6 separate regions of the Homo sapiens genome follow, and regions 1, 2, 3, 4 and 5 are each linked to region 6. Evidence: promoter capture Hi-C in 16 types of primary human blood cells and fetal thymus (Javierre and others, 2016). All regions are on one chromosome and are shown on one strand. Each heading gives the region's core, a stretch centred on a gene start or on the middle of the fragment in contact. The rest is flanking DNA. Distances are from core to core; before and after follow the strand shown. Region 1 holds the start of KRT18 (keratin 18). Region 2 has its middle 20 kb from the start of KRT8. Region 3 has its middle 6.5 kb from the start of MIR9898. Region 4 has its middle 19 kb from the start of KRT18. Region 5 has its middle 4.0 kb from the start of KRT8. Region 6 holds the start of KRT85 (keratin 85).

Region 1 (3,957 bases), core at 709-3,208, 580 kb after region 6:
GGGTTCCCCCCAACACTTCATTCAGCAGGGATGGTCATTCAGCTTCAGGGGGCAGGCAGCATGAAAGCCTCCCTACCTCCATCCTTCTCACACAGAGGCTGGGGAGAGCATCTTGGAGGATGCAGTCCCCTGGGGCCAGGCTTCTAATCCAGACAGCCCTTACAAGGGGGGACAGGGGAAGGACTGGCTTGGAGAAAAGTCCTAGAAAAGAGGGGAGGGGCACTGGCCACCAGGGCTGGGTCGCTGCTATGATGGTCCTAGGAGTGCCTGCCTGTCCTCTCAGGCCCCATGCGATGTAGGACACATTACTTTTATTTATTTATTTATTTATTTATTTTGAGTCAGAGTTTCGCTCTGGTTGCCCAGGCTGGAGCGCGACGGCACGATCTTGGCTCACTGCAACCTCTGCCTCCTGGGTTCAAGCGATTCTCCTGCCTCAGCCTCCTGAGTAGCTGGGATTACAGGCACACACTGTGCCTGGTTAATTTTTGTATTTTTAGTAGAGAAGGGGTGTCACCATGTTGGTCAGGCTGGTCTCAAATTTTTTTTTTTTTTTTTTTTTTTTGAGACAGAGTCTTGCTCTGTTGTCTAGGCTGGAGTGCAGTGGCATCGAACTCTTGACCTCAAGTGATCCACCCGCCTCGGCCTCCCAAAGTGCTTGGATTACAGGCATGAGCCACTGTGCCCGGCGATGTGGGACACATTATCATCTCTGTGAGAGATTTTTGGTCTCTTTTGTCACCGCCCTTCTCTCCCAGCTCCTAGAACTGGGCCTGGCTCACAGTAGGTGCTGAATGCATACTGGTTGAATTGTAAATGCTCAGGATTTGTTTAATTAAGGATGCAGGAAAGGTGATATACCGGTGTGCAGAAGTCAGGATGCATTCCCTGTCCAAATCACAGTGTTCCACTGAGGCAAGGCCCTTGGGAGTGAGGTCGGGAGAGGGGAGGGTGGTGGAGGGGGCTCAGAGACTGGGTTTGTTTTGGGGAGTCTGCACCTATTTGCTGAGTGAATGTATGTGTGTGTGCATTTGAGAGCACACCTCTGTATGATTCGGGTGTGAGTGTGTGTGAGGAAACGTGGGCAGGCGAGGAGTGTTTGGGAGCCAGGTGCAGCTGGGGTGTGAGTGTGTAAGCAAGCAGCTATGAGGCTGGGCATTGCTTCTCCTCCTCTTCTCCAGCTCCCAGCCTTTCTTCCCCGGGACTCCTGGGGCTCCAGGATGCCCCCAAGATCCCCTCCACAAGTGGATAATTTGGGCTGCAGGTTAAGGACAGCTAGAGGGACTCACAGGCCATTCCACCCGCACACCACCAGACCCCCAAATTTCTTTTTTCTTTTTTTTTTTTTTTTTTTTTGAGACAGAGTCTCACTCTGTCGCCAGGCTGCAGTGGCGCGATCTCGGCTCACTGCAACCTCCGCCTCCCAGGTTCAAGCGATTCCCCTTCCTCAGCCTCCCAAGTAGCTGAGACTACAGGCGTGCACCATCACGTCCGGCTAATTTTTTGTATTTTAGTAGAGAGGGGGTTTCACCATGTTGGCTAGGATGGTCTCGATCTCCTGACCTCGTGATCCGCCCACCTAGGCCTCCCAAAGTGCTGAGATTACAGGCGTGAGCCACTGCGCCCGGTCAAGACTCCCAAATTTCAAACTCGCCAGCACCTCCTCCACCTGGGGGAGAAGAGCATAATAACGTCATTTCCTGCCCTGAAAGCAGCCTCGAGGGCCAACAACACCTGCTGTCCGTGTCCATGCCCGGTTGGCCACCCCGTTTCTGGGGGGTGAGCGGGGCTTGGCAGGGCTGCGCGGAGGGCGCGGGGGTGGGGCCCGGGGCGGAGCGGCCCGGGGCGGAGGGCGCGGGCTCCGAGCCGTCCACCTGTGGCTCCGGCTTCCGAAGCGGCTCCGGGGCGGGGGCGGGGCCTCACTCTGCGATATAACTCGGGTCGCGCGGCTCGCGCAGGCCGCCACCGTCGTCCGCAAAGCCTGAGTCCTGTCCTTTCTCTCTCCCCGGACAGCATGAGCTTCACCACTCGCTCCACCTTCTCCACCAACTACCGGTCCCTGGGCTCTGTCCAGGCGCCCAGCTACGGCGCCCGGCCGGTCAGCAGCGCGGCCAGCGTCTATGCAGGCGCTGGGGGCTCTGGTTCCCGGATCTCCGTGTCCCGCTCCACCAGCTTCAGGGGCGGCATGGGGTCCGGGGGCCTGGCCACCGGGATAGCCGGGGGTCTGGCAGGAATGGGAGGCATCCAGAACGAGAAGGAGACCATGCAAAGCCTGAACGACCGCCTGGCCTCTTACCTGGACAGAGTGAGGAGCCTGGAGACCGAGAACCGGAGGCTGGAGAGCAAAATCCGGGAGCACTTGGAGAAGAAGGGACCCCAGGTCAGAGACTGGAGCCATTACTTCAAGATCATCGAGGACCTGAGGGCTCAGGTAAGGGGTAGGAGGGACCTCAACTCCCAGCCTTGTCTGACCCTCCAATTATACACTCCTTTGCCTCTTTCCGTCATTCCATAACCACCCAACCCCTACTCCACCGGGAGGGGGTTGGGCATACCTGGATTTCCATCCGCGCACCTAGCCACAGGGTCCCTAAGAGCAGCAGCTAGGCATGGGAGGGCTCTTTCCCAGGAGAGAGGGGGAAGGGGACAGGGTTGAGAGCTTTACAGAGGAAGTGGACAGCATGGAGGGAGGTAAGGAAAGGCCTGTAAAGAGGAGGAGACACTGGCTCTGGCGGAATGGGGACTATTGGAGGGTTAAGCGGATGTGGCTAAGGCTGAGTCATCTAGGAGTAAACAAGAGGCCTTCCTTTGGGAGGAGCCAATCCAGGGTGTAGGGGGCCCAGAGTGACCAGGTGCACTAGGGAAAAAATGCCAGGAGAGGGCCAGGAAGAGGACTTGTTAGTAGCGACTCACTTCTGGGCAGGCAGGCCAGCCAGCTAGCCAGCCTGCTGAGGCTTCCCAAGAGGGGCAGAGTGCTGGGATCTGGGAATCCAGGAAAGGAGGGAATGGGGTGGGGCTAGATGAAAAGGGATAGGTGTCCAGGGAGAGCCTCTGGCTATTCCTGGGACCAGGAAGTTTTCACTAGGATACATAACACTTTTTACACACTCACCCCACCCATCCCTGGCTTTCTATTCATGGAACAACCTCTCTCTACAATCCCTCCAGATCTTCGCAAATACTGTGGACAATGCCCGCATCGTTCTGCAGATTGACAATGCCCGTCTTGCTGCTGATGACTTTAGAGTCAAGTAAGTTTGGGGGCTAGAGAGCTGGGGGTCCAGGGGTGGAGCTAAGAAGGATCTGCTCCCCAGGCTGGGTCAGTTAGGGGCTCACAGTGGGATCCTGTTAGGTGTGGGTGGATGAGAGTCAGGGTCCATCAGTGTATTCATTTAACTGTTCATTTGTATAACCCCGTTTAAGAATACTGTCCTCCAAGTGCCAAGAATGGTGCTCAGGGGATTACCACCTAATTGCTGACTCAAGTTGCTGGTTTGCAATGGGCACAGAACTTCTCTTAGTAGGTGGCATGAGTTGAGAAGGTTCTGGATCAGAGATAGGGGCCCCTCTGATCACCTCCACTCCTATAGGTATGAGACAGAGCTGGCCATGCGCCAGTCTGTGGAGAACGACATCCATGGGCTCCGCAAGGTCATTGATGACACCAATATCACACGACTGCAGCTGGAGACAGAGATCGAGGCTCTCAAGGAGGAGCTGCTCTTCATGAAGAAGAACCACGAAGAGGCAAGCAGGGGCCACTGGCCAGGCCAGGGATTGAGGGGCCAAGAGAAGTCTGGGTCGGAGAATAGACAAGACAAACCAACTGCAAGTAGCCTTGCTAAGACGTTTAGAAATAGCAGCCTGGGCTCTTCTTAAATAAGACCGTTCTGATGAAGAGCATTCTCAGGGGGTCGAGTACACCCTGGCTCACCTGAATTACAGGTCAAAATGATA
Region 2 (4,555 bases), core at 1,295-3,794, 560 kb after region 6:
AGTCCCCTGGATCTAGGCAGACAGTCTGGGAGATGCAGGAGGCAGGAAGGCAGATTCTGCAGCCAGCATGAGAGCTTGAACTGATCGGCCAACACCTCTGATAAAGGAAGGTGCCTTCCAGAAGACCTCCAGGAGCTTCCCCGCTGATCTGGGGAAGCTCAGGAAGCCCAGGACAGCTGAGTGAGGGTTCCGTAGCCAGGCTCCCAGCTCTCTGCCCTCCCACTCGTCCTGTGAACTGACCCTCCCTCACATCATTGCACTTCTGCAAATTCCTACCACTACCTCCAAAGTGCTCTAGGATGTGTGATTAAAATCAAAGCGTTCTAAGGTTTATGATGAAAATTAAATGAAATTAAGTTAAATTTTTGTTTTGAGAATTGTTTTAGACTATTCCTAGAAGAATGTGCAGTAGCAGGAAAACATAAGTTTGGAAATCAAATAGCCTGTGTTCTAGTCTCAACTCGGTCTCTAAATTGCTGTGTGACATTGGACAAGTTACTGCTCCTCTCTGAGCTACAGTTGCCTCATCTATATAATGAAGGGGCAGGACCATTTATTCCTAAATTGTTTTGTTTTGTTTTGTTTTGTTTTTGAGATGGAGTCTCGCTGTGTTGCCCAGGTTGGAGTACAGTGGCTTAATCTCAGCTCACTGCAAGCTCTGCCTCCTGGGTTCACGCCATTCTCCTGCCTCAGCCTCCCGAGTAGCTGGGACTACAGGCGCCAGCCACCACGCCTGGCTAATTTTTGTATTTTTAGTAGAGACGGGATTTCACCTTGTTAGCCAGGATGGTCTCAATCTCCTGACCTCGTGATCCGCCCGCCTCGGCCTCCCAAAATACTGGGATTACAGGCGTGAGCCACCACGCCCGGCTCTAAATTATTTTTATTACTAATTATTAATTTTTGAAATTATTAAAATTACCTGTATTATTACATTTAAATTAATATGGATTTTAGAGCTTTGAATTGCCTAAAGTGCTTGCAGTGTAGTGAGAAAAGCATTATATATTTTTTTTTTCGAGACGGAGCCTCGCTCTCGCCCAGGCTGGAGTGCAGTGGCATGATCACTGCTCGCTGCAACCTCCGCCTCCCGGGTTCAAGCGATTCTCCTGCCTCAGCCTCCCGAGTAGCTGGGATTACAGGCGCCCGCCACCACGCCTGGCTAATTTTCGTATTTTTTCAGTAGAGACGGGGTTTTACCATGTTGGCCAGGCTGGCCTCAAACTCCTGACCTCAGGTGATCCGCCTGCCTCAGCATGAGCCGAGTTGTGAGCCACCCACCACACCCGGCCAAAAGCATTATACTTAAAATCATACATTAGGCCAGGCGCAGTGGCTCATGCCTGTAATCCCGGCACTTTGGGAGGCTGAGGCAGACAGATCACAAGGTCAGGAAATCGAGACCATCCTGGCTAACACGGTGAAACCCTGTCTCTACTAAAAATACAAAAAAATTAGGCGGGCATGGTGGCGGGCGTCTGTAGTCCCAGCTACTAGGGAGGCTGAGGCAGGAGAATGGCATGAACCCGGGAGGCGGAGCTTGCAGTGAGCTGAGATTGCGCCACTGCACTCCAGCCTGGGCGACAGAGGGAGACTCCGTCTCAAAAAAAAAAAAAAAAATCATACTTGATTTGGGCTCTCAGCTTTTGTTCTCTCATATGTAAAATAAATTAGATTGAGGCTGCAGTGAACTATGACAGGCCACTGCATTCCAGCTTGGGCGACAGAGCCAGACCCTGTCTCAAAAAAATAAATAAAAATTTAAAAATAAAATAAATTATATGATGATAATGTTTGTAAAGATAATTGTAAAGATAATTGTAATTTGTAAAGATAATTGCTTGTATAGGACACTACTGTATAGGACACTACTGTGATGGGAAAAGACCATGCACTCTTCTCTAAGAATTCACCGTTCCTTCTGTCTTTTGCCTTCCTCCCCTCAGCTAAAGGGCTCCTGGAGTGAAGTGGACCCTCAGCTGTACTCTGTGGTCTGCGGCAACAGCCAACGCACAGAGGAGCATCCTCTCCTTAACTAAGCACCGAAAGGGAGTGAAAGGGTAGACTGAAGGAAGGACTTACTAATTCAAGGAGTCATTGGAGCAGAAATGAGTGACCAGGAATGGGGAGGATGCGTCTGTGGAAAAGGAACAGGGCTGGGCCCCCTTCTCACTGGTCCTAGATGGGATCAGGCCTGCCCAGAAGCCAAGAAAAAGATGTTGTATAGACCTCAATGGGGCAAGGCCGGGATGATTGAGGGGATACCTTCAGGGGAGGAGGTGCTAGGCAGTTTTCTGAAAATGGTGCGTTCAGACAGCTCACTATTTCCTGTAGTAATTCCAGGAAAAGACTGAGTAAGACAAGGTCAGGACCGGGAGGAATGCAGCTGGAGGAGGTGTGTATGCACAGTCTCCCCAGGGTGAGCCTGTCCAGAGCCATAAACCTTATCTCCTTCCTCTGAATAGCTGGGATAGCTATCTCTGGCTCCCAGGGGCTCAGGCTGAGTCAGGGCTGGAGGCTGGGAGAGACTGTGGGCCCCGAAGCATACCTAAAACTGTGAGACCACTCAGCACTTAGGTATGAATGGCGCCATTTAGGGTCTGAAATGGTCACCATTTTCAGAAACCTGCTCAACACCTCTTCCCCTGCAGGTATCCCCCTCCGTCATCCTGGCCTTGCCCCATTGATACCTGAAGTGTGGCACATTCAGGAATGAGATTGGAGCAAAAGGGATCTCTTTGGCGGAGGTGGGGTCAAAGAGATAGATTAGGATGATTCATCTCCACAAAGGCTAAGGCTTTAGATTCCTACCAGCCAGCCCCAGGCCAGAAATTTCCCCTTCAAGGAAAGTTGGGCTCCAGGGCTGGGCAATACTATCACCTCAATTATCCCTCTGTTCCTGAGTTCTAGGGTTTATGCACAGTTCTTAATGGGGCCTAATAGTTTCTTTGTCTCTTCCAGCCCTCTATCTTAGAGGACAGGAGGTGGAGCCTACCAACAAAGGGACCCAGGTTCCAGTTCCAGGGCTGCGTTTCTCTCCCCCTCAGGGCCCATTACTCTGAGCTGGGCCCCAGGTAGGGGAGGAAGGAGGAGAAAGGAGGCAGTGTTCTCATGTTCTCTGTGTCCCTGAGAAATTCCCCACCTCCCTTTCAAGCTCCCTCCTAGCAGGCTGGTGAGACCTGCCCTGGAGACAGGCTGGTGCGAGAGGCCCCCTCTGCAGAGTGGAAGGGGGTGACATAATTGCCTGTCCTGAGACTTCTAGACATGTACACACTGTCCCTCTGCCTGGTGTGTCCCTGCCCCCCGCCCCCCACCACCTCTCCTGCTCGCTCAGGTATCCTCTCCAGTGCCCAGCCAGACTGATCTTCTACAAACACTGCTTTGATCCTGTCACTCCCTAGCCCAGAGCTTCCCGTTGCCTTCAGAATAAAGGTCAAATTCCTCATCTGGTGGCTGAGGCTTAGCCTTCCCCACCTGGCACTAGCTGCCCTCCCCACCCCACCCCCAGGACTGTGCCCTCCTCTCCTGAAGCACCTCCTTGTCACCTGCACCTGTTGAAACCTTACCCTTCCTGCAGGTCCTGGCTCCAGCTCACCCCATTCATTCCGCAAACATTTGCTGAATGAAAATCATGCATCAGGCACCTCCCCACAAAGCCTGCCCCAGTCACCTCTGCCGGAAGTGGCCACTCCTATAGAGACCCCAAGAATAGGGCTTTGTTACACCCCTGGGCTGGGTTACACTTGCTGTGGGCATGTCTGAGCTCCCCTCCCTGATTGTAAACCTGATCCACAGTCATTTAGCATGCACTGAACATCCACTATTAATGAGGCATTTTCCATATTTGTCTCATTTGACCCTCACAAGGACCTTGGGAGTTCAGTCTTCTTATCCTTATTTACAGATGAGGAATCCAAGGCTCTAAGAAGTAATGTGCCCAGCAAGTAGTAGTCAGAGCTCAAACCGGAGTCCTGTACCCTAAGTCCAGGGCCCGCACATCAGCGCCAAGGCATCTTCCTCAAAAGTAGGGGCGTGTCTTATACATGTTTCTGCTTCCCTCCACACCCAGCACAGGAACTTGTTTGATTCACTGAATGAATGAATGAATGAATGAATGAATGAATGAATGATTCAATTCTATCCCATGAGTCCTCTTCTCTACTCTGACCCTATCTCCTCTCTCCCACATTGCTTTTTTCCTATCTTCTGTCCCTTACCCTGGACCCCAAGGATTCCCCCCAAGGGAGGAAAGAAGCTGTGATTGTTTCATGGATACCAGAGATGGGAGCTAAGCCTCAGAAGGGTGTCCACAGCCTGGACACACCCCAGGGAGGAGATTCAGGACAGGAAGACCCCTTCACCTTCACCACCACTCAGTTTGATAGACCCAGGAGAGTTCCAGTCCTTCTCTCCACCCCTCCCCAACTCCAGCAGGAAATAGGTGGGCCCAAGGGAGCAGCAGGACAAGCCAGAGAACAGTGAGAGGGTGAAGAGGGGCCCAGATTCAGTGACTCACCACCCTTGGGCCTCCCCTGGGGAAAGGGTGGGGAGCCTG
Region 3 (4,293 bases), core at 156-2,655, 520 kb after region 6:
GACTGTAATTTACAAGGAGAAAATACAGGGTGCCTTGGGAACTTATCATAGAAACACGCCACTCAGTTTGTGGTGTCTAGAAGACTTTCTTGTCTTGTGGTGTCATAAAACTTTTTGTCTTGTCTTGTGGTGTCAGAAGACTTTCTTGGGGAAGCTGCGTTTGAGCGGAAAGCTTGGGAGTGACTAGGAAAGGCAGGGTGTTCCAAGCAGGGGGCCAGCCATGCAATGCCCTGAGCAGAAGCAAATTCCATGTAGGCTATGCCCTGAAAAGCCTGCACCACTGCATCAGAGAGCAAGGGACAGAGTGGCCAGGATGAGGCCTCAGAGGAGGAAGAGTAGGCACAGCCTGTGGGCCAAGTCAAGATTTAGGGCTTTATTCTGGGTGTCAAAAGTAAAGGGTTTTCCCATCATTCTGAGCAAACTATTGCAAGGGCAGAAAACCAAACACCGCATGTTCTCACTCATAGGTGGGAATTGAACAATGAGAACACTTAGACACAGGGTGGGGAACATCACACACCAGGGCCTGTCGTGGGGTGGGGGTAGAGGGGAGGGATAGCATTAGGAGATATACCTAATGTAAATGAAGAGTTAACGAGTTAACGGGTGCAGCACACCAACATGGCACATGTATACATATGTAACAAACCTGCATGTTGTGCACATGTACCCTAGAACTTAAAGTATAATAAAAAATAAAGAAAGAAAAGAAAAAAATAAAATAAAAATAAAGGGTTTTCCATATAAGGAAGTAACTGAATCTGATTCATATTTTTGAGAATGCACTCTGATTTTGGGGGCAGTGAACTATTCTGTATGGTACTGTAATGGTGGCTACATGGCCCCCACAGAATGTCCACACTAAGAGTTAACTCTAATGTGAACTATGGACTGTGGGTAATAATGATGTGTCAATGTAGGTTCATCAATCGTAACAAATGTATCCCTCTGAGGTGGGATGTTGATGATGTTGTAACAAATGTAGCCCTCTGGTGTGGGATGCAGGTGTAGGGGCAGAATGTGTATGAGAACCCTCTACCTCCTGCTCGATTTTGCTATGAACCTAAAATTGCTCTTTTTTTCTTTTTTTTTTTTTTTTTTTTTTTTGAGACGGAGTCTTTCTCTGTCGCCCAGGCTGGAGTGCAGTGGCATGATCTCAGTTCACTGCAAGCTCTGCCTCCTGGGTTCACACCATTCTCCTGCCTCAGCCTCTCGAGTAGCTGGGACTACAGGCGCCTGCCACCACACCCAGATAATTTTTTTGTATTTTTTAGTAGAGACGGGGTTTCACCATGTTAGCCAGGATGGTCTCGATCTCCTGACCTCGTGATCCACCCGCCTCAGCCTCCCAAAGTGCTGGGATTACAGGCATGAGCCACAGCGCCTAGCTAAAACTGTTCTTAAAAAATAAGTCTACTAAAAAAAAGTGCACTCTGGCAAGGGGCCCAAGTGAACCTTCTGTGATATAGGAAATGTTCTACATTACAGGTGTGAACATAAGTTAAAACTCATCAGGCGCCGGGCACGGTGGCTCACGCCTGTAATCCCAGCACTTTGGGAGGCTGAGGCGGGTGGATCACCTGAGGTCGGGAGTTGCCTGACCAACACGGAGAAACCCCGTCTCTACTAAAAATACAAAATTAGCCCGGCGTGGTGGCGCATGCCTGTAGTCCCAGCTACTCAGGAGGCTGAGGCGGGAGAATCGCTTGAACCTGGGCAGCGGAGGTTGCAGTGAGCCGAGATCGTGCCATTGCACTTCAGCCTGGGCAACAAGAGTGAAACTCCATCTCAAAAAAAATAAATAAAAATAAAAATAAAAAAACTCATCAGGTTGTACATTCCCCATTAAAGCACATTTTGCATTTTATTGTATGTACAATATGCCTCAGCAAGGAGGAAACAAAGGGACTTGTGATTGGCCAAGGCTGGCCCATTGTGAACCCTGTGTGCCTGGACAGAGGTCCTGTGATCTTAGGAGGAACAGTTCCTGAAAAGAAGTGGGGCGTGGCAGGAGTGGAGGTGGGGGAGCTTTGCATTACTAGAAGAAGGGGGAAGGGGTCCTGGCTAGACAAAGCAACTATGCCCACCACAATGTGTAAAAGGGCAGCGCGGAGAGTGAACTAGGGGGCCACCCACCATGCTGGTATCCTTCCCTGCCTTCCTTTCCTTGCAGTGGTGCTTCCTCTTCCTTTCCCAACAGGTAGAATCTATGATATATAATTACGTAGGGACATGCATGCACACATTTCTATCTATCCTTCATGAAGGGTATGTACTGTCCGCATTGTCACATGCCTTGCTTTAACATTCACTCCTCCATTCCCACCACCTTACACTCCAGTCAGCCTGGCCCTCGGTCCTTAGCCCACCTTCAGATCCCCCTACTACAGGGGAGCTCCTAGACCACCTTAGCCCAGATCAGCGGGCAGGCAGAGCAAAACCTTGGAATTAAAATATCTTCAGAAGAGTCCACAAATGCTTGGAAGACTCATCATTTTAATCCTGGGTGGTTGGGTCGGGAAAGGCAGGGTGGAGGGAAGTGGGGGATAATGGCTGGCTCATCTGGAATAGTCAAACAGGAACCTTCTTCTACACATGTAAATTTTCTAAAAAACTAAAATTCAGTCCCATAGGAAATCAAGCTTTAAAAACAAAAAGTCTACTAAAATTTAAATGTGCACACATTTTGCTTCAGCAATTCCACTTGTAGGAATTATTAAGATATCCTCACCATTGTCATAGCAAATACCAATAGAGGACTGGTTAAGTAAATTGTGGCACATCCCAAAGTGGAATATTATGCAGCTGTGAAAAAGAGTGGAGAAGCAACTTGTATACTGATATGGAAGGAACAGGTATTGGGTGAATGTTAAAGCAAGGCATGTGACAACACATATAGTACAATACCCTTCATGAAGGATAGATAGAAATGTATGCATGTATGTCCCTATGTAACTATATATAATAACTTCTACTTGGAATGAATCACAGGAAACTGGTAGCATTAATTGCCCTCTGGAACAGAAACTGGCTGACTGGGGAAGGGTCCTCTTGTACTTTTGAATTATGTATAAAGGCCGGATGTGGTGGCTCACACCTGTAATCCCAGCACTTTGGGAGGCCGAGGCCTCCTGGCTAACATGGTGAAACCCCGTCTCTACTAAAAAATAAAAAAAATTAGCCAAGTGTGGTGGCAGATGCCTGTAGTCCCAGCTACTCGGGAGGCTGAGGCAGGAGAATGGCGTGAACCCAGGAGGTGGAGCTGGAGCTGGCAGTGAGCCGAGATCATGTCACTGCACTCCAGCCTGGGTGACAGAGCGAAGACTCCGTCTCAAAAAAAAAAAAAAAAAAGAATTATATATAAAATGTATTTGTTACCTATTCAAAAAAAATTGTTGGCTGGGTGCAGTGGCTCACACCTGTAATCCCAGCACTTTGAGAGGCTGAGGCAGATGGATCACTTGAGGTCGGGAGTTCAAGACCAGCCTGGCCAACATGGCAAAACCCTGTCTCTACTAAAAATACAAAAATTAGCCAGGTATGGGGGTGCACGCCTGTAATCCCAGCTACTTGGAAGGCTGAGGCAGGAGAATCTCTTGAACCCGGGAGGTGGAGGTTGCAGTGAGCTGAGATCAAGCCATTGCACTCCAACCTGAATGACAGAGCAAAACTCTGTCTCAAAAAAAAAAAAATGTTTTCATTTATATGCGTTAAAAATCTAGTATTACTGGCCAGGCACAGTGGCTCATGCCTGTAATCCCAGCACTTTGGGAGGTCGACATGGGCGGATTCCTTGAGGCCAGGAGTTCAAGACCAGCCTGGCCAACATGGTGAAAACTCGTCCCTACTAAAAATACAAAAATTAGCTGGGCGTGGTGGTGGGCACCTGTAATCCCAGCTACTTGGGAGGCTGAGGCAGGAGAATCATTTGAACCCAAGAGGCAAAAGTTGTAGTGAGCCGAGATTGTGTCACTGCACTCCATCCTGGGTGACAGAATGAGACTCTGTCTCTAAAAAAAGGCTGGGCACAGTGGTTCACGCCTGTAATCCCAACATTTTGGGAGGCCGAGGTGGGCGGATCATCTGAGGTCAGGAGTTCGAGACCAGCCTACCCAACATGGCGAAACCCTGTCTCTACTAAAAATACAAAAAATTAGCTGGACGTGGTGGTGGGCACCTGTAATCCCAGCTACTTCGGAGTCTGAGGGAGGAGAAACTCTTGAACCTGGGAGGTGGAGGTTGCAGTGAGCCGAGATCGCGCTACTGCACTACAGCCTGGGTAAGAAGAGAGAA
Region 4 (4,343 bases), core at 1,754-4,253, 600 kb after region 6:
CATACCCTCCTTTCTCTCCGCTGCTGCCCCTGCCTCGCTCCCGCGCGCTCCCATTGGGTGGTGCCTGGGTGTCCCCGGCTCGGCAGCTGCGGCTGCTTCCCAGCCCCGGGGTCTCAGGGCCGTCCCGCCGGTCCCAGGGCACCGCTCCTGTGCCCCACGCCGCCGCTTCCCCAGTTGCCCCCTGACTGCAAGAGTCTCCTGGTTTTCGGCTTGTCCTGGGACTCCTGGGAGAGCCCACCGAGAGTTCTGGGGCACCTGCAACCTCCCTCGTCTCCTAAGAGGGTGGGGGAGTTCTTTTCTAAATATCATAAACCTCAAGGGGAAAAACCAAGGGGTGTATGTGTGCACGTTTGGGGTAATATTTGAGTATTAAAAAACAACCTTCCTCCCAAAATAAATATATGAATAATAAAAAATTAGCCTGCCTTGGCCGGGCGCAGTGGCTCACGCCTGTAATCCCAGCACTTTGGGAGGCCGAGGTGGGCGGATCACGAGGTCAGGATATCGAGACCATCCTGGCTAACACGGTGAAGCCCCGTCTCTACTAAAAATATAAAAAATTAGCCGGGCGTGGTGGTAGGCGCCTGTAGTCCCAGCTACTCAGGAGGCTGAGGCAGGAGAATGGCGTGAACCCGGGAGGCGGAGCTTGCAGTGAGCCGAGATCTCGCCACTGCACTCCAGCCTGGGCGACAGAGCGAGATTCCGTCTCAAAATAAATAACCAAATTAATTAAATTAAATTTAAAAATTTAAAAAAATTAGCCTGCCTTGGTGGTGCGCACCTGTTATCCCAGCAACTCGGGAGGCTGAGGCAGGAGGACTGCTTGAGACCAGGGGTTGAAAAACAGGCTGGGCAACAAAGTAAGACTCCATCTCTACAAAAAATTTTAAAATTCACCTGGCGTGGTCGCGTGTGCCTTTGGTCCCAGCTACACAAGGGGCCCAGACGGGAGGATTGCCTGAGCCCCAGAGGTTGAGGCTGCAGTGACCCATGTTTGCACCACTGCACTCCAGCCTGGGTGACAGAGTGAGATCTTGTCACAAAGATAAATAAATAAATAAGTAGAATGCAGAGCAATGAAACCCTCATATGTTGCTGGTGGGAATACAAAACGTGTACAACTACTTTGGAAAACAGTTGGGCCGTTTTTTCTAAGTTTAAAAATACACCTCCCAGCGCGGTGGCTCACGCCTGTAATCCCAACACTTTGGGAGGCTGAGGCGGGCGGATCACGAGGTCACGAGTTCAAGACCAGCCTGGCCAATATGGTGAAACCCTGTCTCTACTAAAAATACAAAAAAAAAAAAAAAATAGCCAGGCGTGGTGGCATGCGCCTGTATTCCCAGCTACTTGGGAGGTTGAGGCAGAAGAATTGCTTGAACCTGGGAGGCGGAGTTTGCAGTGAGCTGAAATCTTGCCATTGCACTCCAGCCTTGGGCAACAGAGCAAGACTCTGTCTCAAAAAAAATAGTAATAAAAATAAAAATATACTTACCAGCTCGGTGTGGTGGCTCACACCTCTGATCCCAGCACTTTGGGAGGCCGAGGTGGGTGGATCACCTGAGGTCAAGAGTTCGAGACCAGCCTGACCAACATAGAGAAACCCCGTCTCTACTAAAAATACAAAATTAGCCAGGCGTGGTGGTGCATGCCTGTAATCCTAGCTACTTGGGAGGCTGAGGCAAAAGAATCACCTGAACCCGGGAGGCGGAGGTTGCAGTGAGCCAAGTTTGTGCCATTGCACTCCAGCCTGGGTGACAAGAGTGAAACTCCATTCTCAAAAAAATAAATAAATAAAATAAAATAAATAAACAGATGGTTCAAGTTTGGCCTCTCCCAGTAGGAATCCTCTTTGTGGCCTTCCTAACATCTGGCCTCCGTTTGAAGAATTTATGACAGTATAGCCCCTGTTGGATAATAATTGTATAATTACTGGAACATTATTGTTCCTTCTACTGGGCTGAAATCTGCCTCCTACTAACCTTCTAAACTCAGCTCTGCCCACTAGAGTTACACAGAACTCCCTCTTCCATTAGATTTCAGCCATAAGTGATTATTCTTCCCCTAACCTGTATAAAAGCAGCCCCAGTCACGGTGTAAGGATTTAGCTGCACTGCTGGCCTCAACCTCACCTGCCTGAATGAGCTGGAAAATAATTATCTACACAGAAACAGCCCAAGGAATTAGAATGATAGTGATGCTCAGATCCGGGGAGGCTGTGTCCCCCTGAAGGCCCTGGTCAGATCCTGGTGAAGTGGATGGTGCTGCCACAGGAGGGATGTAGGGTAAACTTCTCAGAGACTCAGGGCACTCCAGTGATCTGGGCCCAAAGCACACAGTTCCTTTTCCTCTCCCCACAATCCACACTGGAGCAGCAGGCTCTAGTGGGCCCCTCCCAGGCTGGCAGAACTTTCCCTATCACCCACTCCCCAGAAGCAAAAAAAGTTTAAAAAGCACCAGCCTAAGGCTGGGTGCAGTGGCTCATGCCTGTAATCCCAGCACTTTGGAAGGCTGAGGCGGGCAGATCACAAGGACAGGAGTTCAAGACGTGCCTGACCAACATGGTAAAACCCCGTCTCTACTAAAAATACAAAAATTAGCCAGGCATGGTGGTGCATGCCTGTAATCCCAGCTACTCGGGAGGCTGAGGCAGGGGAATTGCTTGAACCCGAGAGGCAGAGGTTGCAGTGAGCCAAGATCATGCCATTGCACTCCAGCCTGGGCAATGGAGCAAGACTCCGTCTCAAAAAAAATAAATTATTGTACATTTAAAAATAACTAAAAGAGTATAATTGGATTGTTTGTAACATAAAGGATAAATGCTTGAAGTGATGGATGCCCTGATGAGATTATTATGCATTGTATGCCTGTATCAAAATATCTCGTGTACCCTAAAATAGATACACATACTGGGTACCCACAAAAATTAAAAACTTTTTTTTTTTTGAGACAGAGTTTCACTCTTGTTGCCCAGGCTGGAGTGCACTGGCTCAATCTCGGCTCACTGCAACCTCCGCCTCCCAGGTTCAAGTGATTCTCCTGCCTCAGTCTTCCGAGTAGTTGGGATTACAGGCGCCCACCACCACACCTGGCTAATTTTTTTTTTTTTTTTTTTTTTTTGGATTTGGAGTAGAGACGGGGTTTCGCCATGTTGGCCAGACTGGTCTCGAACTCCTAACCTCAGGTGATCCACCTGCCTCGGCCTCCCAAAGCGCTGGGATTACAGGCATGAGCCACCAGACTCAGCCAAAATTAAAAACTTTAAAAAATAAATTAATAACCACAGCAGTAGCTAGTAGCTAATGGCTACCAGATTGGACAGGACAGTGCAGCACCAGACTGTAAGCTCCCTTTGAGCAGAGACTGGACTATCTTGTTCACTCTTATGCCCTGATACATAACACAATTCCAACACATAAACAGCAGGTTGTTATTTTCTTTTTTAAAGACAAAAATTTGAAATTGTAATTTTTATTAAATTGTAAATAAAATGTTATTTTATTTTATTTAATAACCTATAGCATTTGCCAATATCCAAGGTATAAATACTGCTGTCATGGTTGATTTAAAATGGTTTAATTCTGGGAAGCAAAATTTTCAAATTTAACAATCTTCTCTTACTAGCTTTTGAATGAATAAGCAAATGAATGAACAAATAAATGAGCAAATAACAAACCAAGAGGAGTCTCTGCATGCCTCACCCAAGGAAAAGAGGACAAAGGAGAGTAGAAGAATATTTCAAGATGCCAGCAGTCCTCTCACTCTCTTTGCAGGTCCTCTTTGTTCCAGGAAAGAGAACTTAGTGGGAGAACAATTGAACTTCCTCAGCTTCGCTTCACACACACCCCAGCTTTAAGAAAGCCCAGGAAGAATTTGTTTTTTTTTTTTTTTTTGAGACGGAGTCTTACTCTGTCACCCAGGCTGGAGTGTAGTGGCGTGGTCTCGGCTTCTCAGCTCACTGCAACCTCCACCTCCCAGATTCAAGCGATTCTCCCGCCTCAGCCTCTCCAGTAGCTGGGATTACAGGTGTGCACCACCACGCCCAGCTAATTTTCGTATTTTTAGTAGAGACAAGGATTTCACCACGTTGGCCAAGCTGGTCTCAAACGCCTGACCTCAAATGATCCACCTACCTCGGCCTCCCAAAGTTCTGGGATTACAGACATGAGCCACCTCACCTAGCCTTTGGATTACAGACATGAGCCACCTCGCCTAGCCTTTTTTTCTTTTTAAGGAAAAAAAGAAAAATAAAATCTCATCTTAATCTGCTCCATTTTTTTTTCTTTTTAAAGAAACTTTCCCAAGTCACTTAAACAGTCTTCGTAATGGGAAGGCACTCAAAC
Region 5 (4,547 bases), core at 111-2,610, 540 kb after region 6:
CAGTTTCTTCCCCATCCTTCTCTAGGAGAGACACCCAGGCTCACAGAAAGACAGGCACATAGGACCCCTACCCAGAAGGACAGAGAGACCCAGAAGCCCCCTCCTTGGAGGACAGACAAACTTAAAAAGACAGACACACAGACAAGCTCTCTTCACAATGCACGCGTGCATACACACACACACACACACACACCCCACACATTGAAGTCCCTTCCAGAAAAATGCATAGATCCCAAGAGCGGGCACAGTGAGTGGCTCCTTCACCTCCCCTCCCCTCCCCAGGCCCTGCCTCCTGCTATGCTGAATGGAGCAAGGGAAATTCAGTTAGCACCTATTTACACCAGGCCTTCTCCCAGCTCCTTTAAACAATGCCTAATTTTCCCAAGAGTGATTGGAAGGCATGCTACCCCCTCCCCAACAAACACCCGCACCCACCAGGGCTGAGAAGCTTTTAACAGAAGACCAAAGGGAGAAGGACTGGGCCCAGTGCCAAACCTGGGACAGGGAAGGCGGAAGGAGGGAGGGAGGGGCTGGTCAGACGGGTATGGCAGCCCTGGAAAGGGAGGACAGGCGCTCTCCCTATCTTCCCTCCCCCACGCTGCTGTTAGAGGGAGCAGGGGGCACTCAGGTCCTGATCTAGGCAGCACAAGGAGCAAAAAAACAGCACCCCAAAGCCTTTCCTGAAATTCCAGTCCCCTCCACCCCACCTTTCTGGTTCCCTGGTTCTAGGAGTGTCCCTTGTTTAAGGTGAGGACAGAGGGGGTTGCCAGGGACCCTGCAGTATGCAGGCTGGAGGGCTGACCCAGACCTTACCCAGCCAGGGGAAGCCCTTTTTTTCTGGGGCAGCCCAGAACCGTCTAGGGCCAGAAGTGTTTGTGTCTCATTTGTCATCTCTCTATTGCCCAGAGACCCCAGCCAAACCTTCCCCCAGATGCCCCAAGCACAGCCTCGGTGCAGGAGAAGAGGCCAGAGTTGGCCTCTCTGATGGCCCCTGCCTGGGACTTCAGGGTTAAAGGCAGAAGGAGAAGGCCCCTGGGACTAGGGCCAAGTGGTGAGGGAAGAGAGAACCAGACTGGAGCAGGCCCACAGGTACAACTCCTTGTAAGGCATTGTGGTCTACACACAGCTGCCTGCCGGACAAAAGGGAACAACGTGTTTGCGGTGCCTGCCCTACCCAGACAACTCTGCCTCAAACCGCCTTTCCTGGAGAGTGAACCAGGGAAGGAGGAGACACTCACTCCCTGTGGGCCAAGAGTGAGGGCCAGGCCCCCTACTTCTGATGGTGCAGGATAATTCAGAGAAGGCCCTGAGACCCTGAGCAGTGGCATTAAGTCTTGGGGCCAGTGGGGTGGGGAGGTAGCTGTTATCATCACTCATGATCATGGGAAGAGATGGTCTGAACAAGTTTTTTTTTTTCTTTTTTGAGACGGAGTCTCGCTCTGTCACCCAGACTGGAGTGCAGTGGCGCAATCTCGGCTCACTGCAAGCTCCGCCTCCCGGGATCTGAACAAGTTTTGCTTAGAGATCAGGACTGATGATCTCATTCGCTGCAACCTTGTTCATAATAGCCAAAGAGTGGGAACAAAACAAATGTCCACCAAATGACGAATGGATTTCTTTAATGTGGCATATCCATACGATCTAATGTTACAATTAAAAGGAATGAACTACTGATGCATGTTGGATGCAGATGAGCCTTGAAACCCGTATGCTCAGTGAAAGGAGACAGTCATAGAAGATCAGGTACCCTATGATTCCATTTATATGACATGTGCACAACAGGCAAAGCATAGAGACAGGAAGTAGATTAGTGGTTGCCTAGGGAGGGGAGGAATGGAGATGAATGCTAAAGAGCACAGGGTTTCTTTCTGGGGTGATGAGAATGTTCTAAATTTGATGGTGGTGGGCAGGCACAATGGCTCTACCTATAATCCCAGCACTTTGGGAGGTCGAGGCAGGAGGATTACTTTAGCCCAGGAGTTTGAGACCAGCTGAGCAACATAATGAGACCCCCGTCTCTACAAAAAATACAAAAATTAGCCAGGTATGGCGGCACACGCCTGTAGTCCCAGCTGCCCTGGAGGCTGAGTTGTGAGGATCACCTGAGCCCCGAAAGTTGAGGCCGCATGCATTGAGCCAAGACTGTGCCACTGCACTCTAGCCTGCGTGGGAGACAGAGTGAAACTCTGTCTCAAAAATAAATAAATAAATAAACAAATTTGATGATGGTGAAGCTGCACAAGTCTGTGAACATACTAAAAATCACTGAACTGCAAGCTTCAGATTGTTGAATTATATTGTATGTGAATTACAGCTCAACAAAGTTGTAACAAAAAGATAACCACAAAAGCATAAATGAGCTACATATAAAAAGCAGGGGCTTTGTGCCCAGCATAAGGGGTCAGGGGAAAGAAGCAAAGAGTTTGTTTAGATGCCCCAGGTAAAGAGGCTTCCTGCCTCTGGGTTAAGGCAATGCCCGAAAAGCACCCGAAATCCCTTTAAATGATGGAGCATTTTGAAATGTTATTATTGGTATAGAAATAGCTGCATTTAGCATAGAGACAGCAGAACAATTTGTTTAAATAGGAAGCCACAGGTGGTGGGTACACCCCTCAGGAAGCAGCATCATGAATAATAGAGTCAATTCGATTGCTAATTTTGTGTTATGTGCCTCAAGGCTAAAATTTTTCATTGTCAAAGCTTAGCAAATGCTGACTTTTTTGCTCTTGATCAGTGATGGATCTGATGATTAAAGCCAGCCAGGATGGAAATGGACTGCCTAGAGAGGGAGCAACCTCCTGTACCTGGAGACATGGAGAGGGACCTTGCTCACCAGCTGTCCACTGGCTCAGTGGGAGGGGGTTCTCACATCTGCTAGGGTTTGAATTAGAATGTCCAAGTCCCGCCAACTCTGAAAGCTTTTGATCCACATCCACCACCATAGAGCTTTACGCACTGAAGATGAAAATCTGTGAATGTTCTCTGGTTTGAAATTTTGCTTGTGATAAGAGATATGATTAGAAATTATTAGAACAAGAGTGAGGGAGGACAGCACAGCCTTGTTGTGGAGGAAGGAGACACAAGCCCAGCAGCCTGAAGATGTTGAGGTCTCCCACACTTTTTTTTCTTTTTTTTAGAGACAGGATCTCACTATGTTGCCCAGCCTGACTCGAACTCCTGGATGCAAGCAATCCTTCTGCCTCAGCCTCCCAAAGTACTAGGGTTACAGCGTGAGCCACTGCACACAGCCTTTCTCACATTTTCAACATTCTCTCACCCTCCTCTCCACTGATGCCAAACCAAGAAGGTCATCCCACTGGGTGAGCATGAAGCCTAGGCGGAAGGTCCCAGCTATGGCTCAGTCCACAGAGTCCTTCCCCTTAACTCTGGTTCTCCATCACATCAAGATCGCCCGTGGGAGATTATAACAGTATACGTGCTCAGGTCGCACCCCGTCTGCATTTTCAAAGCTTCCTCGGTACAGCCAGAGTCAGGCACCAGGCTTTAGCTCTGGTCCCAACACCAAGACCTTTAGGAACACACTTTCTTCCTCTTCCCAGAGGAAATAGGCCAGAGCTCAAATCCACAGCACTGCAGGTTCCTGCTTAGAAAGGGTGATATACTCTGTCCCTCAGGAAGGAAAACAGAGTGGTTCAGTCCCCAGAACCTGAAACTCCACCACCGTTGGCCAGGGCCACAGAGACAGAGACAGAGACTGCGAGAGGACAGACACAAATGGGTCCCACTCCTGACAGTGAAGACAGCGGTACTGGGGACTTGAGTGACAGGAAGTGGAAGTTATTGAGAGGATTTCAAGGAAACTTCAGAAGCTGACATTGCGATAGGGGAAGCCCTCATGGTGTTCAGGCAACCGGACAGGAGTGCAGGAAAAGAACAAACAGGAAGGACCTGGGGCTCCGCTATAGGCATCCTGCCCACCCCCACCCCAGCCCTGAGGATTCCCCTGGCCTGAGCTGCTTAGCACTGGAGCTGATATCCAGAGGCCCACTGTTTTGATTTTCCTGCTGGGCAACCTGAGGACTAAGGTGGGAGTTGGGGACAGGGACTAGAGGCCTTTATTCCTTCCTGTATTCACCTTTTCATTTATCCACATATTTGCTTATCAGGCAGTAGTCTAAAAAATTTCAGGAGATGAAGTATTTGGGTCCTCTCAAACCAAAGGAGGTAGGAGTCTCCTTTGACCAAGGCAAGGTATTTCCTGAAAGTCCCTGTTGAGAAGTGACCATCAGGCCAGACGTGGTGGCTCACACCTGTAATCCCAGCACTTTGGGAGGCCGAGGCGGGCTGATCACCTGAGGTCAGCAGTTCAAGACCAGCCTGGCCAACATGGTGAAACCCCATTTCTACTAAAAATACAGAAATTAGCCGGGCGTGGTAGTGGGCACCTGTAATCCCAGCTACTTGGGAGACTGAGGCAGAAGAATCGCTTGAACCCAGGAGGCGGAGGTTGCAGTGAGCTGAGATTGCACCATTGCACTCCAGCCTGGGTGACAGAGTGAGACTCCGTCTCAAAAAAAAAAGAAAAG
Region 6 (4,509 bases), core at 1,479-3,978:
CCAGAAGTAGCTCTAAGGCTCACAGGGGTGGAGTCTTAGAGGTGAATCCCAGGAATCTGAAGAAATCTAGGCCCCACTGGATATCTGCTCTGGGTTCCAGGCAGCCTGCTAGAGGAATCTGAAAGAAGCTGTGGCAAGAGGGCTATGGGCAGAGCCTCCCAGCATTCTCTCTGAGTTTCCCCTGAGTCCCCCCAGCTTGCTGCACTCACTTCTTCTTGTAGCCCTCCAGCACCTCCTGCACATGGTTGAGCTCTGAGGCCAGCCTCCCGCTGTCGGCCTCCACGCACTCGGCCTCCCGCCGCAGAGTCTCGATGTAGCCACTGAACAGTGGCTCCAGGTTGCTCTCGCAGCAGCGCTGGTTCTGGTAGAACTGCCACTTGGTCTCCAGCAGCTTGTTCTGCTGCTCCAGGAAGCGCACCTGCCATTCAGGTGGAAAGAAGAAGTCAGAGGGAGCCTGGGGGGAGGCACCTGGTCCCCCACAGTCTCTCTGCCCTCGGGTGCTGGCTGAATGGGCTGAGCCATAAAGCTGAGTGTCTGCGGCTCAAGGGGCCCATTCCCAGGCCCCCAGGGAGGCAGTTGTGGGTGTGAGGGAAAGCAGTCTGACTCAAAGCCAAAGGTCTGTTTCGAGCCCCAGTTTTGATACTTTAGAGAGCAAGTTGTTTAACCTCCTGGGGCTCAGTTTTCTCCTTTCCAAAATGGAGCGAATAGTGTCTGTCTTAGCACTGTTGTGAAGCTTGAACAAGTTAATGCATATCAAGTGCTTAGAACAGTCCCTGACACGTAGTAAATGCTCAGTCTATTTAACTATTATTATAATTACCAGTTGCCCTTCACTTGCTCATTTATGCAACAAACACTTATTAAATATTTACTACTTAGTGCCAAGGCCTGTGGTAAGATATACACATCCATGTCTAATGTCTGTGTCTATGTCTATATCATCTAACTATGCATTCCATTCAATTATCACAGCCCTGTGGGATGTAGATATTACTTACCCCATGTTGCACATGGGGAAATTGAGACCCCCAAGGTGTGAAATGCCCAGCTCATGGTAAGCGATAGTCTTGAGATAGGCATGCTCTGCCTCCCCCTACAGCATGTCTGAGATGCTCGTATACACCCCCTTAGCTCCAAGTTGCTGTCTGATAAGTGGAGACGCTGATACCCACTCCAACCCGTCACTGTGAGGATGGACTCAGATCACTAAAGAAAGAGTGAAAACGTGAAGGTGACTGCCTCTGCCCCCAAACCCTGATCCTAGGCCCCCAAAGCTGCTCCTTCTGCTCTGCTAGAGGCCTGTGGACACAGGAGGAGCCTGTGAAGGAGGCTCCCAGCCTCCCCCGACAAAACTTTCTTGGGAGGCAGCCTCACAGCTATGCAGCGTTCTCCACACTCTGGCTGCATTAGGGGGCCTCCTCCTACCAGCCTGGCCACCTCCCTGTCTGCATTTCAGCCCTCTCTCATGAAGGGGCTGCCAGGCCTGGGTTGGCTGTCACACCTCCTCACCTACCACTGTCCTTGGAAAATAATGATAGTAGCAGCTAACATGTATTGAGTGCTGACTATTTGCCATCATGTTTCATGCATGGACTCATTAATTCCTCACAGGTGGATGAGGCAGTCCTGTTATTCAGCAGAGTAACCTGCCTGGGGTCTCACACTGCTGAGTGATGCAGCAAGGACTTGGGAGAGGCAGCATGGCTGTGGGCATTACCCCAGCCCCTTCACGGGCTGCCTGGCTAGGAGCCACAAGGTCTTTTGGTCTCCCCGTTATCTCCCACTCTTCCAGCACCTGCTGCCCAGTCTGGTTTTTCAGACACAGTTCTGATAGTCCTATGTCGTCTTGGCTCAAGAAACACACACACGCTCACACACATGTACACACTCACATGCATACACACACATATGCTCACACACATGTACACACACACATATACACACCACACACTAACATACGTACAGGCGCACACACCGCTACACACACACACATGTACACACACACACATGCACACACTTTGGATCACAGGCTCAATTTCTAGACCACACCTGGACCTCGTTAAATGCTGCGGGAGTTAAGTGATGGAAACTGACCCTTCCACCTGTATGGGTCTGCACGTCATTCCCTCTGCTGCCTCAAACCGGCAGCCATCCTGTCTCCTCAGCAGACTGGGACCTCCCCAAGGGAGGACAGGGCTGGAGGCTTCTCTGGGCCGTCTCAGGCCTCACCCACCTTGTCGATGAAGGCCGCGAACCTGCTGTTGAGGGACTTGATCTGCTCCTTCTCCTCCTGCTTCACGCACTGTGCGTTGGGGTCGATCTCCAGGTTGAGGGGCGTGAGGAGGCTCTCGTTGACCGACACGGTAGTGATGCATGGGGGGCTGGGTCCGCACACGCCCCCGGAGCGGTAGCCGAAGCTGCGTCCGCAGGAGCCGGCTCGGAAGCCACCTACAGCTATCCGGGGCCCGCAGGAGCCCAGGTTGCAGAGGCTGCGGCTGCCGAAGCCCGTCAGCCCTCGGTAGCAGGACACCCCTCGGTAGGGGGCGGCGCTGATGCAGCAGCGGTTGCCAGTTTTGGGGGCCACAGCTGAGCAGGAGCTGAAGTTCCTGGTGACCCCGCATCCTGAGCTGATCCTGTAGGAGCGGCACGACATCGTGTGAGGCTGAGCAGAGTCTGAGAGGCAGCGGAAGGTGGTGCGGGCGGCAGAGTGCGAGGCTCAGGATCCTTCTGCTCTCTCTGATCCTCCCTGGTCCTTTTATTGGTGGGGAGAGCTGGGGTTGGCTGCATAAAAGGAGTGGAAAGCCATTTTATGTTGTTTATGGGCTTGGGGAGTTTGCCAGCAACTCCCCACGGACTCATCTTAAAGGTGAGCTCAGCAGCGACTCTGGGGCTCCCTGAAGTCTTGAAGATGTTATTAAGGAGACTGCATTTGAACTTTTCATCTTCAAAGCTCGTTTACATACATTAAGTAATTAATTTTCTCACAGTCTTTCTGTGAGATGGCCTCAACCCACACTTGGAGACGGATTTGAACTCCACAACAGCCTGGGGGTGGCTGGGTTTGGGATACAGGCAGGAGCCATTGTCTCAAGGGAGAGGTTGGAGGGTCCTGGGTTAGGTGAGACTTGGGGGATCATTGCATTCATCTATCTGGTTCCACAGAGGACACATTCTCAAGTAAATCATTGCATTTCAGGGGCCAATAGGTCAGGCGAATCCCACCCCATCTAGGCAGCATTGCTTGGAAGGTGGTTCAGGACCAGAGCGGTCATTTTGACCATGCCCGTGCCAGGATAAAAGGCTGGGGCAGATGATCTCTTGGAACCTTCTGGATTCCAGCCCAGAAGGCGCTGGTCCAGAGCTTTCACTTCTCACCCAGCAAAAGTGCAAACCACAGAACTCTCAGTGGCCACAATAATGGCTACTTGCGGATTATGGGGAGACTCCCTCTAGCCACTTTCTTCCATTCGGTCAAAAGGATTGGAGAACTCAACCTTGGGATAACCTGGGGGCTATAAATTTGCTGTGGGCACCTTTGCTTTGCTCTTTAAGAAGAAACAGGTCATGTGAGTCTCCCTTCCCAGACCACCAGCTACAAGAGGTATTCCTTCTGTTGGCCAGCCCTTGAATTGTCATCCCTAGAGGAGTGTTTAGAGACTGCATTGCACAAAGCTGGAAGTGGGATAGTGGTTTATTCTTGTCTAAGGTGGCTATGACTTCTGGCTCCTGGGGGTTCTGGGAGCCCCATCCTTCTAGTTTCTGCTTCCCTGTGTGTCCTTGGGACACTTATTAGGATAACAAGTGCTATTCTTTTAATGTTTATGGAGTACAAACCTTGGGGATGTGGGTCTGCCCCCAGGAAGGTTAGCCAGACACCCAAGTGTTAGGAACTTAAGGAAGAAGAGCCGATGAGCTTCCTCAGAGGGTGACTCCTCCTCCAGGAAGCCTTCCATAACCAAACACTGCCATCATGCTGCTGTTCTCATAAGTCCTTCACGAAATGCCCTGTACTCTGTCCTGCATCTGCTCTAATCTCCACAGCCAGCTGACCTCACCCAGGACCTTCACCCAGGATCAGGCTGATCGATTCCCACCTCACCTCCACATTCCACATTGTTCTTCAGGGCAGGGTAGAGAGACCTTGGCAGCTGGTGGGGGAAGAGCAGGTGGTCTCACCAGCTGACCCTAGAACATATGCAGATCATAATCATCCATGGAAAAGCAACTGCGTTTGGCAACCCGGGCAATGGAATCAAAGCTGGAAGACCTGGTTCAAGGGCCAGTTTGGATCCTTCCTAGCTGTATGGTTTTGGAGGAAGTTCTTAAACTCTCTGAGCCTCTGTTTCCTTAACTGTAATGTGGATTCATCCTTACCTTCCCGGGCTGTTGGGAGGGTGAAGAGGATGATATGTGAGGGAAAGCTCTGTGTAAAGGAAAGGGACTGTTGCTTTCCACGAGAAACATTCCCACCTGCCTCACCCAGCAGAAAGGGCTGTTCCTTGCCCTGCC

The links. The method cuts DNA at HindIII sites, captures the fragments that hold promoters and counts their contacts. A CHiCAGO score of 5 or more calls a contact.
Region 1: a contact is called between the fragment with the promoter of KRT18 here and the fragment with the promoter of KRT85 in region 6, in 6 of 17 cell types (M0 macrophages, M2 macrophages, M1 macrophages and 3 more). The highest score is 13.6, in M0 macrophages.
Region 2: a fragment that was not itself captured here is called in contact with the fragment with the promoter of KRT85 in region 6 in 2 of 17 cell types (M1 macrophages and erythroblasts); the score reaches 5.2 in M1 macrophages.
Region 3: a fragment that was not itself captured here is called in contact with the fragment with the promoter of KRT85 in region 6 in 13 of 17 cell types (M1 macrophages, M2 macrophages, M0 macrophages and 10 more); the score reaches 18.2 in M1 macrophages.
Region 4: a contact is called between a fragment that was not itself captured here and the fragment with the promoter of KRT85 in region 6, in 7 of 17 cell types (M1 macrophages, M0 macrophages, M2 macrophages and 4 more). The highest score is 14.1, in M1 macrophages.
Region 5: a contact is called between a fragment that was not itself captured here and the fragment with the promoter of KRT85 in region 6, in 1 of 17 cell types (M0 macrophages). The highest score is 8.4, in M0 macrophages.

What each region holds. Positions count from the first base shown.
Region 1 is chr12:52,947,160-52,951,116 of GRCh38, forward strand. KRT18 (keratin 18) reads left to right here and starts at 1,959. Exons shown (of 7, transcript NM_000224.3): 1 at 1,959-2,431; 2 at 3,169-3,251; 3 at 3,591-3,747. The coding sequence starts at 2,015. It also overlaps a transcript of KRT8 not described here. RefSeq lists silencers at 606-900, 1,658-1,777, 1,788-1,867, 1,908-1,957, 2,619-2,642 and 3 more, enhancers at 1,291-1,665, 1,354-1,947, 1,948-2,541, 2,365-3,564, 2,476-3,130 and 1 more, promoters at 1,547-1,626, 1,547-1,557, 1,635-1,717, 1,927-1,988 and a cis regulatory region at 1,635-1,717. The HindIII fragment of the contact is 10,122 bases long and covers 1-3,957 here.
Region 2 is chr12:52,922,846-52,927,400 of GRCh38, forward strand. It overlaps a transcript of KRT8 not described here. Among named protein-coding and RNA genes, the nearest start is that of KRT8, 20 kb to the left of the region's middle. The HindIII fragment of the contact is 7,195 bases long and covers 1-4,555 here.
Region 3 is chr12:52,890,359-52,894,651 of GRCh38, forward strand. No RefSeq gene overlaps it. Among named protein-coding and RNA genes, the nearest start is that of MIR9898, 6.5 kb to the right of the region's middle. RefSeq lists a silencer at 3,654-3,832. The HindIII fragment of the contact is 2,470 bases long and covers 171-2,640 here.
Region 4 is chr12:52,965,559-52,969,901 of GRCh38, forward strand. No RefSeq gene overlaps it. Among named protein-coding and RNA genes, the nearest start is that of KRT18, 19 kb to the left of the region's middle. The HindIII fragment of the contact is 7,174 bases long and covers 1-4,343 here.
Region 5 is chr12:52,906,821-52,911,367 of GRCh38, forward strand. It overlaps a transcript of KRT8 not described here. Among named protein-coding and RNA genes, the nearest start is that of KRT8, 4.0 kb to the left of the region's middle. The HindIII fragment of the contact is 1,829 bases long and covers 447-2,275 here.
Region 6 is chr12:52,364,753-52,369,261 of GRCh38, forward strand. It overlaps KRT85 (keratin 85), which reads right to left and starts at 2,729. Exons shown (of 9, transcript NM_002283.4): 1 at 2,234-2,729; 2 at 210-418. The coding sequence starts at 2,653. The HindIII fragment of the contact is 4,446 bases long and covers 732-4,509 here.